Linked DNA regions of Homo sapiens: region 1 is linked to region 2. The links are contacts of gene promoters, found by promoter capture Hi-C in blood cells and fetal thymus (Javierre and others, 2016). All regions are on one chromosome and are shown on one strand. Each heading gives the region's core, a stretch centred on a gene start or on the middle of the fragment in contact. The rest is flanking DNA. Distances are from core to core; before and after follow the strand shown. Region 1 has its middle 4.6 kb from the start of SMARCA5. Region 2 holds the start of ELMOD2 (ELMO domain containing 2).

Evidence for each region. The method cuts DNA at HindIII sites, captures the fragments that hold promoters and counts their contacts. A CHiCAGO score of 5 or more calls a contact.
Region 1: a fragment that was not itself captured here is called in contact with the fragment with the promoter of ELMOD2 in region 2 in 1 of 17 cell types (total CD4 T cells); the score reaches 5.2 in total CD4 T cells.

What each region holds. Positions count from the first base shown.
Region 1 is chr4:143,507,420-143,510,823 of GRCh38, forward strand. No RefSeq gene overlaps it. Among named protein-coding and RNA genes, the nearest start is that of SMARCA5, 4.6 kb to the right of the region's middle. The HindIII fragment of the contact is 846 bases long and covers 1,010-1,855 here.
Region 2 is chr4:140,521,884-140,525,525 of GRCh38, forward strand. ELMOD2 (ELMO domain containing 2) reads left to right here and starts at 2,285. Exons shown (of 9, transcript NM_153702.4): 1 at 2,285-2,397; 2 at 3,537-3,642. The coding sequence starts at 3,546. RefSeq lists silencers at 1,987-2,336, 2,527-2,646. The HindIII fragment of the contact is 7,186 bases long and covers 1-3,507 here.

The DNA of each region.
Region 1 (3,404 bases), core at 183-2,682, 3.0 Mb after region 2:
GTTTCAGATCTTAGAGGGAGAGGATTCAATCTCACTAAGTATAATGTTTGCTGTAGGTATTTTGCTGATGCTCTGTATTAAGAGGAGGAAGTTCCACTCTATTTGTTTTCTCTTTTTTTTTTTTTTTCTGAGAGTTTTGTTCTAAATGGGTGTTGGAATTTTGTCAAATGCTTTTTCCTCATCAGTCAATATAATCATGTGAGTTTTCTTCTCTAGCCTGTTGATATGGCAGACAACATTGACTAATACTCAAATATTGAATCAGTGTTGAATATCTGGAATAAATCACATTTGATCAGGGTGCATAATTCTTTTTACACATTGTTTAATTGTATCTGATAATATTTTGTTAAGGATTTGTCTGTATTCATCAGTGATACTGGTCTGTCATTTTCTTTCTTATGTAGTGTCTGTCTGATTTGGTATTAGAGATAAAGCACCTTCATAAAATGAATTACAAAGTGTATCATCCTCTTCTATTATCTGCAGGAGATAGTATGGAATTGGTATTAATTCATCTTTAAATATTTGGTAGAATTTTTCATTGAAACCATCTGTGCCTGAAGATTTCTTCTTTGGGAGTTTTTAATTTATCAATTTAATTTCCTAAATAGTTACAGTGCTATTCATATGATCTTTTTATACTGTTTAAGTGGCTTGAATTTTTCAAGGAAGTGGTTTTAAGTTGTCAAATTTATGTGTGTCGTACTCCTTACTACCCTTTTGATGTTTTCAAGGTCTACAATGATAGGTCCTGTTTTATTCCTGATATTAGTGATTTGAGCTTTGTTTCTTCCTTCCTTCTTACCCTCTCTTTTTTTCCTTTCTTCCTTTCTTGTCAGACTTCCTAGAGGTTTGCCAATTTTACGTATCTTTTCAAAGAACCAGTTTTTGCTTTTTATTTTCCGTATTTAATTTTATTGACTCCTGCTCTTACCTTTATTATTTCCTTCCTTTTGTTTACTTTGGATTTATCCTTGCTCTGCTTTTTTTAGTTTTTTGAGGTGAAAGCTTACATTTGAGACTATTCTCTTTTCTGAATGTAAGCATTTAGTGTATAATTTCCCTCTAAGCACTGTTTTAGCTGTGTTCCACAAATTTTAATATATTGTATTTTTATTCTGTTCAATGTACTTTTTGATTTCTCTTGAGACCTCTCTTTGACCCATGGATTATTTAGAAGCACGTCATTTAGTTTGAATATATCCCTGGTAACATTTTGTTACTGATTTCTGGTTTGACTCCATTGTGGTTAAAAAACATACTCTGTATGATTTCACATCTTTTAAATTTGTTAAGGTTTATGGTCTATCTTGCTATATTTTCTGTGGGTTCTTGAAAAGAATGTGTATAGTCCTACTTTTGTAGAAGAAAAAAATATGTGCAGTGTTGTATAAATGTCAATTAGATCCTATTGGCTGTTGTTAAGTTCTTCTATACCCTTGCTGGTTTTCTGCCTAGTTGTAGTATCAGTTGTTGAGAGATGCTGTAGTCTCCACATATAATTGTGGATTTGTTATTTCTAATTTCAGTTCTGTCACCTTTTGCTTCACATATTTTGCAGCTCTGTTGTTTGGTACATATACATTTAAAATTGCTATGTCTTCTGGGTTGACACTTTCATCATTATATAATGTCCCTCTTTGTCTCATAATTTTCTTTGCTCTGAAGTCTACTTTATCTGATAATGATATAGCCACTCCTGTTTTCTTTTTGCTATTGTTTTAATGATATATATTTTCCATCTTTTTACTTTCAATATTTTGAGCAAAAGACTGCCTAATTTCCTTTGTCTGAAGTTCCTTTTAATAAATGAGATAAAAACTAAATAAAAAAACTCTAATTTCTTAATTGAAGCTTTGTAGTTTATTATTTCAAAAATGTTTCAAAGATGGTGGTTAAAATTTAACTTTGGATCATAATATTTGAGTTCCTAGAAATACTTTACCTAGAACCAGCCCAACAAAAAAGAAATTATTTTTTCATGAGCAGGAAGAAATGCAGAGAAAACCTGAAAAACTTTGACTACATAAACATATGCATATATACCGAGCAGACACAAAGTCTCCCACTATTTAGTTGGTGACTAAATATGAGGGGAATGAAGGGAATATATCCTTACCTGTTTATTAACAGTACAGTTAATGTTTCTCTTTAACTGAAATCTCTGTACATTGACAAATGACCTATGTGGGAGAACTCTAAAAAAGATACATACAACATGTAATCATTGGTATCTGGTGTTGGAAATACCCATTCTTAGATACAAACTCAATACAGTTTTATTGTCTTGCAGTAATCAGACTTTATTTTCTTAAGCTTTGACAAAATGAGTTGCAATGAAGAGAGGTGTTGCATTTCTTCTTTGTCCTTGAGAAAACTTTAACTCCTTTCTGTTACCATTCAAGGACACAATGCTGAGAGAGCCCTGGCTCTTCGGCACATTTTTGTCCTCTGGCAACATCTCTTTGTTCCATTGTATTTCTGTACTGTACTTGCTGTTCTAGCACATTAAATCTAACAGAGGAAATTTTAGGTGTAAACTATGTATATACATATTGGAGATAGAACACTAACATTATTTTACACTGTAGCATTCTGTTGCTGGGAATACGACTAAAGCTCTAATCCTTTCTGGTGTTTTCTTGCTACCAAACCCCTTACCCTCCTCCTTCTTTGGTTCCTCTTCTTTCAACTAGACTCTAAACCTTAGGCTTATGATTCTCAAGGATAAGACTAACACTTGAACCCAGAACTCACTATATGTCAGGCACTGTATCATGTACCTTATACTGTCTCATTTAATTTTTATGACATCATAATATTATCTCAAAATAAAGCTAGGAAAATATAATAATAAAAAGATGAGAAAATTGATTTCAAAGAGGTTAGATAACTTGTCTGCATTCACACAGCTACTAAGTTCCAGAGCCTGCACTGGAATCTAGGCTTGCCTGCTCCCCAACCCACTCTTTTACCAACACATGAATTCTGTATTATGTGATCAATTCAACAACTAGCTGCTAGTTTTAGCCTTTTAGCAGGATTTTGTGATTTGGCCACCATATTAGTATTGCTATCTGCCTGAGGAACACAGCTAATGTCCCTGTAGCTGTTTCTAGGCTTCATGTCTTTTCTGTAGCTCTTCTCTGCTTTTCCTTTCTGGTTCTAAACTCTGCCAAAAATCTTTTTCTCTGTCACTTATGCTAGATAACTGAGTTCGAGCATTCTGTGTCCTCTTGCTAGTTTCCATCTTTTCTCTATAATTTTCCCCCGAATGATTCTAATACAGCTTTCATATGATCATATGAGAAACTCACATGTAAATGCACATGTTAAAAGACAATCGCCATTTTGGAGGCAATTTTTATTTATTTATGTGCATTGTTTTCCTTGCTATTTAT
Region 2 (3,642 bases), core at 1,035-3,534:
GAGGGATAGCATTAGGAGATATACCTAATGCTAAATGACATGTTAATGGGTGCAGCACACCAACATGGCACATGTATGCATATGTAACAAACCTGCACGTTGTGCACATGTACCCTAAAACTTAAAGTATAATAACAAAAAACAGTCATACCAAAGAACTCTTTCCAATAAGCAGTTTCTAAAATCAACAGTTCCATGGCTGTTTAGTCTGAGAATCCAAGAAAGCAGAGATTCCTCAGTACTACTAAAAAATATAACCAAATTTCCTTCCTCTATTGCCTTTGGTTTGTATGTAGGTGTATCTGATAAGGCCACGTAGATGCACACAGGTTGAGAGACCTAGGGACCTAGATGGAGAAGGTCCCACTTTCTCCATGAAACCAGAATCTTAATCTTAGGATATAATTAACCTTTAGCTAGCCACAAGAAAGAAGAAAACCAAAGAGAATAAGAAATAGAGATGGACAATCTTTCCTGAGAAACAGGATTTGTTTAATGTATCTGCCAGTTACATGCAAGTGAATTAGTGGAAAAGGGAAGAGGCAAAAGGTATGCATAAGAAGTTTTAATGTACAGTGACCCTGCTTATAATAAATGCAGCTTAATCAATTTCTCTGGTTCTGACAAAACATATCAGCATTCTCTTCTCTTGGGGAAAGACATAAATGGAAGTGGGCAAACAGGCAGCAGGGAAACAAGGAGGAGAGAGTTCCTCTACTGCACTGCCTACACTTAGTATAGCACTTTGAAAAGGCAAAAGGATTACATATAGAATTATCTCACCTTCTACTATGTAAAAGTTTGTGTAATAATGGAGATCCTCCTGAAATAGAAGTTAGTTTACAGGTCAATTTGCCAAATCGGCTGTGCACTTTGCCTTTCTAAATCTTTTAATCTATAATTTTAAAAATTACATTAGATGATAGTTATAAGTTCTCTTTAAGATTTAAGATTCTGTGATTTTACTATTGTAGTGTCTATCCAGACTTCATTACCAAGTTCATTGTTGGTATGGGACAGGGATGACGGCTTATGCACCCTGCACATGGCTAGTGTTCTACAATTAGTCCATTTTTTAAACGCTGGTTGAGATGTGGGAAAGTATGTATCACTTGCTTCAATTCAAGGAGTTGGAAGGAATATACATATATACACTTGCATATAATATTTTTGGAATTAGAAACAAGAAAGTAATACTGGTTGCTTCTGAGCAAGGTGACGGAGGTATCAGGAGTTTTGGGTGGATGGGGAAATTTGTTTTCAGTATCAGTTGTCCTTTGTATTTATATTCTACTCTCCCCCTTGCTCTTTCTCCTCCAGCCACCCCGGCCTTCTTGCTCTTCCTCCAACATTTCAAAAACCCTCCCAATTCAAGGTCTTTGCACTTGTCATTCTGGTGCCTGGATCACTCTCCCTCCAGATACTCCCACAGTAAACTCCCTTACTTCGTTCAATGAGGCCAAAATGCCACGTTAATAATGAGACTTCCTTGACCACACTGTATGCAATGACTTCCCCCACAGACTCCCCATTACCCCTTAGCTAACAACCCCTATACCCTTAACATTTAGTAGCATCTGACATATTAAATATTTGGCTGTTTGTTTCGTGTTTGACTGCCTTTTGGAACACTGCCTGTGCTAACAATCAACAAATACTTGTTGAATTAAGAAACTTACTGCTTGAGGTTTTTAAAAAGTAATCACGAAATTACTTTTTCAACAAAAACAACCAGTTAGGGAATAAACATTTGATAAATTAACTTTTAGACCTATAGTATTATAGGATAAAGTCCAAACTTCGTTTCTCAACACATGGACTTTCCTCATCTGCCACGTATTGGCCACAGTCAAGTAGCCGGTTCCCTTTTCTCGTGCATAAAGTGGAGTTATTCATAATTACTTCACAGAATTAAGATTCAATGCAGATGAAAGCGCTTTTGTAACTAAGGCACTATAAGTTACCGTAAGCACAGGGTTTCTTCCGCGCTTGGAGCCTAGGAATAGTACAAGGTGTCAACCCGCGCTAAGGACCTGAGGTTCAAGGAGGGAAAAGTCTCCAGCGCAGCGCTAGGAGGCGCTACTCCGGCGCGGGGCGGGGCTCCTGGCCGCCGTTGCCAGGGAAACCGTCTGGGCGTCCCTAGTATCTGAGCCCTCGCGCCTGGGCCACTCAGCTCGACCTCTCTCCAGCGTTAGCAATAGGTGGAGCGCGGGCCAATCGGAAGAGGCCGGAGGGGCGGGGCGGGCAGTGGCCCTGGGAAGGCGGGTCCGCGGCCTCGCTCCCTGACTTCCGGGTCGCGGTGCTTGAAGGGAGTGTTCCGTCGTTTCCGTTGCCGGCTGTTTGCAGTGGGGAAACCGAGGCAGCTCCTGCTCCCCCTAGTTCTTCCGCTCCTGTGAGGTGGCTGCTGTTTCTTTTCCTCTTGCCCCGGATGCCTCGGTGCGGCTGCACTGAGAGCGCGCGGGCTCGCGAGCCCCGCGGGGTTCTGCGGGAACCCGGGGGCGCCTGGGCCGGCGGGTCTTTGTGCGAGCCCTGCCCTCCCATTCGCGGGCGGCGCGCGAGGGGGGTCGGCGCAGAGACGCCCAGAGCCCTGGGGTGCTCAGGCGCCGCTACGCGTGCATCCCCTCTGCTCGGCAGTTCTGCGCTTTTGTCCTAATGAGCGCGGACTAGATGGCTTGATTTTCAAGATAATGATCAACCCAGCTGTGCTATGCGCTCTTTCTGCACTGACCTGCGGGTACTTCGAACTTCGACAGTCCCTCCTCAGGCCCTAGTCCAGAGGTGACGTGTCTGTGGGAATGTTTAAGGCAGGAAGGAGACGAGCAATTTTGTTTTTAAGTATCTCCCTCTCACTAGTATCTCCCTGACTTTTTCATTTAGAAGCTGAAGAATTTTCTTATGGCATAAGATATAGTTGTATCGAGTGTGTACTTAGCAAAACAAAAACTTGTTAGTATTTCTGCCCTTGACCTATTGAATGGAAAATCAAGAATGAGCTAAGGTGTTATATACTCAGTGTTCAACTTGTATACTTAAGTTTGTAGTGTTTTTATTTGCTGGCATCACCTGACTGGGACAGTTGTAACGAATTATCCACATGGGATAAGAAGAGTGTATTCTATAAAAACAACTCTGATGTTTTGGTATATATTTTAATTGTTGATTAGTTGGAGTCCTCTTGATCTTGAACTGTTGAGCCCCAGTTCTCAAAGAATGGGAAGTTAGGAAACTAAGATATGAAATACAATTATTTAGCAAAAAGTGCAAACCATTCTGTTACTCTTTCAAGCCATTGAATAGTTTGAGTACATTGTTTGAATTTTAGTTTTGAAAAAGTGATTAATTGGCCATTTGATCATCAATTAATAGCGGTATATATTACACCTGCCATTGTTTTTAAATGCCTAATTAAACTGTCAAAACAGACACAATGAAATGATAGATACATAATTTGAGATTTGATCAGTTGTATAAACTTTTTAAATTTTAAAATTCAGTTTAAGGTCATTAAGCTTGTCTTGTATGTTTCCCTCCTCCAGGAAAAAAAAATGTTTATTTCTTTGTGGGAGTTCTTCTATGGGCACTTTTTTCGATTTTGGATGAAATGGCTATTACGACAGATGACTGGGAAGTGTGAATTGCAGC